Regions from separate parts of the Homo sapiens genome. Here region 1 is linked to region 2. Evidence: promoter capture Hi-C in 16 types of primary human blood cells and fetal thymus (Javierre and others, 2016). All regions are on one chromosome and are shown on one strand. The core of a region is centred on a gene start or on the middle of the fragment in contact, and the rest is flanking DNA. Distances in the headings are between cores, read along the strand shown. Region 1 has its middle 39 kb from the start of TCP10L. Region 2 holds the start of EVA1C (eva-1 homolog C).

Region 1 (3,561 bases), core at 870-3,369, 130 kb after region 2:
CCCTGCACTGAAGAAAAATCTAAAAGTCATCCTTTTGTAACATTGAAAACTTGGAATAAAAAATTCATTAAAATATTATCTATAGAAACACTCCCAAAGCCTCATAGCAAGAAATTCAGATAAAAGCACATATTTTCACTACTTTAATGTGCATGAGTTTAAAGTCCATGACTGTTATTTTTATCTTCATCATTCCCTATTTGACTGATTTTTAACCTATCATGTTACACCATGGAGTGGCAAATACTATCAAGGAATCAAAAAAAGCAACTCCTTCAATAATCTAATTTATAGGAAATAGAGTAAATTACAATGATGCCTCTTTAATCTAATTAATTAGCTAATTGATTAATTTAATTAGTTAATTAACTAATGTCCCTGATGGGCAAAGTTTTCTTAACCAGAGAGCTTCCTGGCCCACACAAGAAAGGAAAAATTAATGATCCATCAGCTGTTTCTGAACTTCAGGATAGTTGGAGGCCCAGCTTCAGGGATCACGTCTTCTGTGAGGTCACAAAGGAAATTACGCCTTCAAGAATGCACTGTTCAAGCCATATCCTTGACTCCGATGAATCAATCAGGAAAGGGCTATTGTTATAAATAAGCAAATGAGACTGGTCATCAAGCAACTGGTCCTCAAGGTTTGACTTCTTTTCTTCTCCACCACTGAACAGATTTACTTTTTTTTTTTTTTTTTTGAGATGGAGACTCTCTGTCGCCCAGGCTGGGGTGCAGTGGTGCTACCTCGGCTCACTGCAACCGCTGTCTCCTGGGTTTTTAGGCAATTCTCCTGCCTCAGCCTCCCGAGTAGTTGGGATTACAGGCACCCACCACCATGCCTGGCTAATTTTTGTATTTTTAGTAGAAACAGAGTTTCACCATGTTGGCCTGGCTGGTCTCAAACTCCTGACCTCAAGTGATCCACCCGCCTTGGCCTCCTGGAGTGCTGGGATTACAGGCATGAGCCACCATGCCTGGCCTAAATTTACTTTTAATCTCATGAGATGCTGAGGACTAAGACCCCCTCCTTCCCAGGGCCCAAAGCAAGAAAATGGGATGGAGAGGCCCATCTCCAAAGATCTTACCCTTGGAATAAGGGTCTTTTTCCCACACCTCCTTGACATCTATTCCCCCTGGGCTGTTTTTATTTTCCTAACCCACACTCCATCAGCTTTAAGCACTAAAGAACTTTTTGGCCACCTCAGGACAAAAATTTGTTACAAAAATCACCTCCTAAATCAAATGAGCTGAGCCTCACTAAGTAAATCAGGCTTTGGACAGGCTCCGCTTCCTGTTGGTTGTTCATACATTTGTGTTGCTCAAGTCTTCATCTTAGAACCCAACCCCGCCTTGCTGGATTCCTGATGGAATTTCTCTTTGCACCTGAACAATTCTTCAGGCATCTTCTCCTTTTAATTTTGAAGAATGTGATACCTTTCTGTCAGAAAAGGTATCCAGGTCTTAGATTCACACTCAAGCCATGAATAATACTCTTCTGGGCATACATAAATACACGATTTTCCCAAATTCTCCTTCTCCTAGCACAGAGACCAAAGCCTTCTTCCTTCCCTTTCCCTAGCCTTCTTTCAAATTCTCACCTTTCCTGGCATTTGTTTACTTGCTCAACCTTCTAACAAACATTTATTTAACAAACATCTGCTATGATCCAGGCACTGAACTAAGTGACACAAAGGTGAGTAAGACACAGTCCTTGCCGTAAGAAGTTCATGCTCTTATGAAGCAGACCAGTTATCAGACCATTACAGTGCATGGTGGAAGGGCAGAGATAGCGTTAAGCCCAGGACATTATAGGGCCCCTCAAAAAGAGCCAAGTCACCCCACTGGGGACCCTGTCTGTTTCCCCTCACTCTTCAGGTTCTAGGTGTTTTCAGAGTTGTGTTTCTTTAAAGTGTTTAAATAGTTTCCTTTCTAGCAACCTCCCCCATGGATAACGACGTAGACCTTCCCAACTCCCAATCTGAATCATTGTATTACTTCCAGGCCAGCGACTCATATATTCCTAGACTCATCAACTTCTCATCATCCGTACTACCACAAACATCAGAATATCTAAAACCCCTAGAGTCCAATCCACTCCAGTCCATGTTTGAGTTTTCCAAATCCACATGTCATTTGAAGGTGAATTTTCCATGCATTGTGTTTTGAAATCAACAGACATATACTTAATCCTTTTGCCTCAGTTTCTGATCATCATAAAGACAGGAAAAACAGAAATCCTCAGTTCATTTTAATTCTCTTAGTCCTCAACGTGATATTCGTTCACATCCTTCATGACTGGCCTCTCTTTTACCTATCTGGTTTTGAATTACATTGGCTAACTTCAGAAAAGTCATCGTTACTAAATTGTCTCTGAAAGAAAGTAATTGAGGCAGAAGATATATGCAGTTCTTCAGCAATTGTTTGAGCTGCACTGTCAGTGTAGAAATAAGCAGCCTAATAAGAGGTCAGATACGTGGATTTTAAAAGCCTATTTATCATACAGTATTCAAACCCTTTAATCATTTTATAAGCCTCACATTAAATGTCAGTTGTCATTCTTTTTCCCATCATGATTACTTAACAAACCAAAATACCATTATGTTGTTCCTTTTCTAGAAAAAAAAAATGCTTCAACGTGAAAGAAATAAAGCTACAGAGAGACAGGGCTGGCGCAGGGGATCTGGACCTAGAGAACCAGCTTCAAATTCTGCTCCACAACCTATTTATTGTGTGATTTGAAGCCAATTATTTAAGTTCTTTGAGCTTCAGTCCCTTGATCTATTCAAGGAAGATAATAATAATCTCTGCCTTACAGTGTTTTCAAGGGTGAGTCCACACCCATCCTTGAGTGAATCATCACCTTGGTGGGCTCCATGGCACCCTCCTCCCCCACCCCACCCCCGGCCGGCCCTCCTTTCTGAAGCAGCCTCTCCCACCCTGAGGTGCCCCACCCTCCAAGTTTCCTGCTGCTCTGGGCACTCCTACATCTCTGCACCATGGCCCACACACACCGGAGTCCTGGCATCTCAGTCCTAGTCTTCATTCTTATTTAGTAGCCTCTCTTTAAGATGGTTCATCCACACTGGCAGCTTCCATTTTCAGATGCCTCCAATCTTTCATTTGAATATCAGACCTTTATAGGCAACTATTCACACCATACCTTCTTTTGGGGGGTATCTCCCACTCAACAGGTCTAAATGAAGTTTGAGTCCTCTCCTAAATCTAGCGGGCTTCCCATGTTCTTATTCTCAGCTAGTGGCACTGCCACTCATCCAGCTGTGCGAGCCAGACACCCAAAGAGTCATCCCAGACCCCTCACCTGCTCCCCAACCCCAGCCATCACAAGCCCTGTCCATTCTCCCTCCTAAAGAGCTCAGAAATATGCCTTCAGAACTACGTCTTCATTGGACCACCCCGGTCTGAGGTACAACCCACCTATTTCCTAAACCATCCCATCGTACTCACTGCCGTGCCCCAGCAGAGCGCCCTTCTCAATGCACAGATGTTGTGGTGTCATTTCCCTACTTCTGTCCTCTCACAGCTCTGCATTGCTCTTTGGGT
Region 2 (3,514 bases), core at 233-2,732:
GTGGCTCCTAAGTGCTGGGCATCCTTACCCACACTCCCAGCTTCAGTTTCCCTAACCTAGAGAGCGCACACTAATATTTATGTTCAAATGTTATTGGGGAGGTTGAGTTTTTATTTAATATTTGAATGTAGATTTTAAAAATCATTATGCCAGACAGGCTGGGCCTCACTCGATAAACACTGATGTTTAGCATTTAACACACTTTTCCCCAGACTGGAAGAAGAGGCCGAGATCCCAATTCGGTGACCCAGCCCTTGCTGGAGTACTAGGTGGTATCTAATGCCATCCACCCTTCCGGGATCTTTACGGCCCACCTCTGAGTGGGTCCCACGGGGACCCTCAGCCGCATTTTCTTTCTGCAGGCCTCCCTGCACACTCTGGGGCGTTCGCAGCTCTGGAGCCCGCGGGGCAGTGCGTCCGGCCCCGCCCTGGGCCTCATTATCTACGTTTCCGCGTCACGCCCGCCGCGAACTTGGCAGGCCCTCCCGCCGGGTTCGGGAACACTGTGTGCCTAGCGCCCGCCCTCCTCCCTTCCGCCGGCCCCGCGCGATCCATAGGGTTTGGGTCGCTGGGCGCCAGGTACCCGCACCCGGCAAGCAGCCACGGAGCCCCTCGCGCACTTGTCCTCGATACCCTTGAGTTGGGGCTACGCAGGCCACTCCTAGGCCACTGGCTGGGCGTCCGAACGTGGGTCACCCCGCGCACAGTCTAGAGGTTCAGAAAGATGCTGTGGCCCACTTTAAAACAAAGCCCAATTATTAGCGCTCGGCGGCTGTTTGCGCCGGTGCAGTGTCAGATCCCCCAGCGCTGCGGACAACCAGCACCCAAAGGAAGCCGAGCTGGAGCTAAAGATCCCGGCTCCGGAGCCATCTGACCGGTTTTGAGACCTCCAGCTCGTCGCCGTCCTGGCTGCGAGAGCTTGGGCACGGCGCCGGGGCTCAGTCTCCTCTTCTGTGGAATGGCGATAACTGTATGTGCCGGGTGACTGCACGTGGCGCGCGGCGGGTGGCGGGGATGGCAGCGGTGCGATCCCACGCCTCCAGGACCCCACCTTCCTGCGGCCCCCGATCGGCCCCGCCCCGGGGGCGCCCCAGCTGCACGCGCGGCGCTGGCTCCAAAGTGCGTCACGGGCACCGGCCGCGCTCCTTCTGCCGCCAGGGCGAGGCTGGCACCCGGCCAGCGCGGGCAGGGCCACGGGTGCCCGGCTGTTTCCCGGGTGTGGAAGGCGCTCAAGGTGCGCGGCCCGGGGCGCGCTACTGGGGGCGCCCTCCGCGGTGGGCAGCGCGCCAGGGATCGGCCTGGGCAGCCGCGGGGCGCGCGAAGGCTGCGCTTTCCCTACGGCCCCCCTCGCTTCCTCCGGCACGGCGGCAACGGAGATTTCCTCTCGGGGAAACTACGCGGATCCTTTTCGGGGATCCTCGCCCCGCCCCAGTTCTCCGCCCCCTCCCCTTTGCTGGGGCGCCTGGGCTGGCCCGCGCAGGGGAGGAGGCTCTGGCAGCCTGGGCAGGGAGGCGGCGGGGGGCCGCGGAGCCGCTGGCCATCGATTCTCCCCGCCATGTGACGCCGTCCTTAGCCCTGCGACCCCCAGCGCGTCCCGGGCCTGCGCCTCCGCCCCGCCGCGCAGCGCACGATGCTTCTGCCGGGACGCGCACGCCAACCGCCGACGCCCCAGCCCGTGCAGCATCCCGGCCTCCGCCGGCAGGTAGAGCCGCCGGGGCAGCTCCTGCGCCTCTTCTACTGCACTGTCCTGGTCTGCTCCAAAGAGATCTCAGCGCTCACCGACTTCTCTGGTAAGAGCGCCCTCCCTGGCTGTGTGCCCCCGGCACCGCGGAGCGCCCAGGTGAACCCTCGACTGGGGGCAGCCGCACCAGTGGACACGGCGGGGTAGGATTAAAGTTGAGGCGTGCTCACAGACACTTGTCTGGTGTGAGCCCTTGGCATATAGATGGCTGCGAGTGAAGTGGCGACGGGGGACTGCCACTCCCAAGAAGGAAGGGTGTGTAATGTATTCAGAGTTTCTCGCCCTGCTGTTGACCTCGTCAATTTCCTAGCATTAGGGACCTGGTCCTGAGCCACGCTCGTTCTATGGAGGCTCCTTAAACTGAGCCCTGTGCCGCGCCCAGCGCTGTAAAATACACGTGTTGTGGTCGGAGGCGTTGCGCCGCGTTTGTCACCCGCGTAGCCCGTTTGCCCATGTAAGGAGACTAGCCCAGGGGACACTTGACCTCGAGTCCACATTGGCAGGTAGAAAGGGAAGCCCGCGGGGACTGGAGGTCTGGTGGAAAGGCAGTGAGGGATGAGGAGATACTTAGATAAGAGAGAGGAGCCTCTCTGCCAAAGTGTACCAGGGTCCTCCCTCTCCAATTCCAGTTTCCTTCACAGAAAATAATGACTTCCTACTCTCGAATAAACTAGGAGGCTTTTCTTTTTGGGAATCGTGATCCAGGCTCTCGCAGCGGATCTCAGATAGTTCTGAGCTTACAGGTGTGACGCCCCAAAGTGAAAGGGATTTCTAGGTTGACGATAGCCATAGGAGCACATGCTTAAGTTAGCGCTGCAGTTGCTTAAGGTAACACATGTCCTTGCCGCTGAAGCACACCTGGATCTCCCTCTGGCAAGGCTGGAGGCCTTCAGCCTTCCCCAGCCCAGCTTAGGGAGCAGCTCTGAGCCCCATACTCCTCCTTCTCCAGGGATCTTCTGCCAAGTTCAGGCTTTGCACAGTCGGTCCCTATCGGGTCCTCAGTGCAGAGTCTTTTGCAACATAATGGTGGTAAAGGGAGTCCTCCTCAGTCCTGTTTGTGCAGTAGGCTAGTACATAGCAAAGAACAAGGGCAAACCAGAAGTTGAGATGGGGTTCTAGTTTACTTACAGAGAATGTCATTGTTAGTGGAGAGCCCTTAGGTCAGAGGTTCTTTGCTTTGAATATGTAATATCAAGGCAGTATTCCTACCTAGCAAAGGAAGCCAAGATAAGGCCTATTTGGCAAGCCACCCACGGCCCTTAAAATCAAGCATCCCAGGATCAGAACTCTGTGGTAAGAGTTGTGGGGAAATGCATCAGACTTTTCAAGGGCTATTAACTTTTTTTTTTGTACTACTAGAACTTTCTTGGCTGCTAGAAAAGCTCTGTATTAGCTGATTTGAGCTATGGAAAGCAGTTCTGAGTTCAGCCACCATCTAGCTCTGAATTCTAAGGAAATAATTGAAAACTGACAAGCCTTTTTGTGTTTGTGACATCATTGCAACTGAACAAATATTGCTTTAGGCAAATTGCAGTGTAACCATTAGATTGTTTTCACAGATTATAGACACTTAGAGTTCTGTTGCTTTAGGGAAGCAGTTGCAATACTTGTAACAGTCTATAGATTACCACCCAAGTTTGGAATTGTCTGTATCTAGCAACTGTTACATACAGTGGAGTTGAGCTATCAACTCCTTAGTAAAATGAATGATTTGATACATGTTATTCTAAATAGTATAAATGATAAAAGGCATTTTCTTCTGCTTTCCATACG

Evidence for each region. The method cuts DNA at HindIII sites, captures the fragments that hold promoters and counts their contacts. A CHiCAGO score of 5 or more calls a contact.
Region 1: a fragment that was not itself captured here is called in contact with the fragment with the promoter of EVA1C in region 2 in 3 of 17 cell types (megakaryocytes, endothelial precursors and erythroblasts); the score reaches 8.2 in megakaryocytes.

What each region holds. Positions count from the first base shown.
Region 1 is chr21:32,544,353-32,547,913 of GRCh38, forward strand. No RefSeq gene overlaps it. Among named protein-coding and RNA genes, the nearest start is that of TCP10L, 39 kb to the right of the region's middle. The HindIII fragment of the contact is 4,581 bases long and covers 1-3,561 here.
Region 2 is chr21:32,411,224-32,414,737 of GRCh38, forward strand. It overlaps EVA1C (eva-1 homolog C), which reads left to right and starts at 1,483. Exons shown (of 8, transcript NM_058187.5): 1 at 1,483-1,790. The coding sequence starts at 1,631. The HindIII fragment of the contact is 8,620 bases long and covers 1-3,514 here.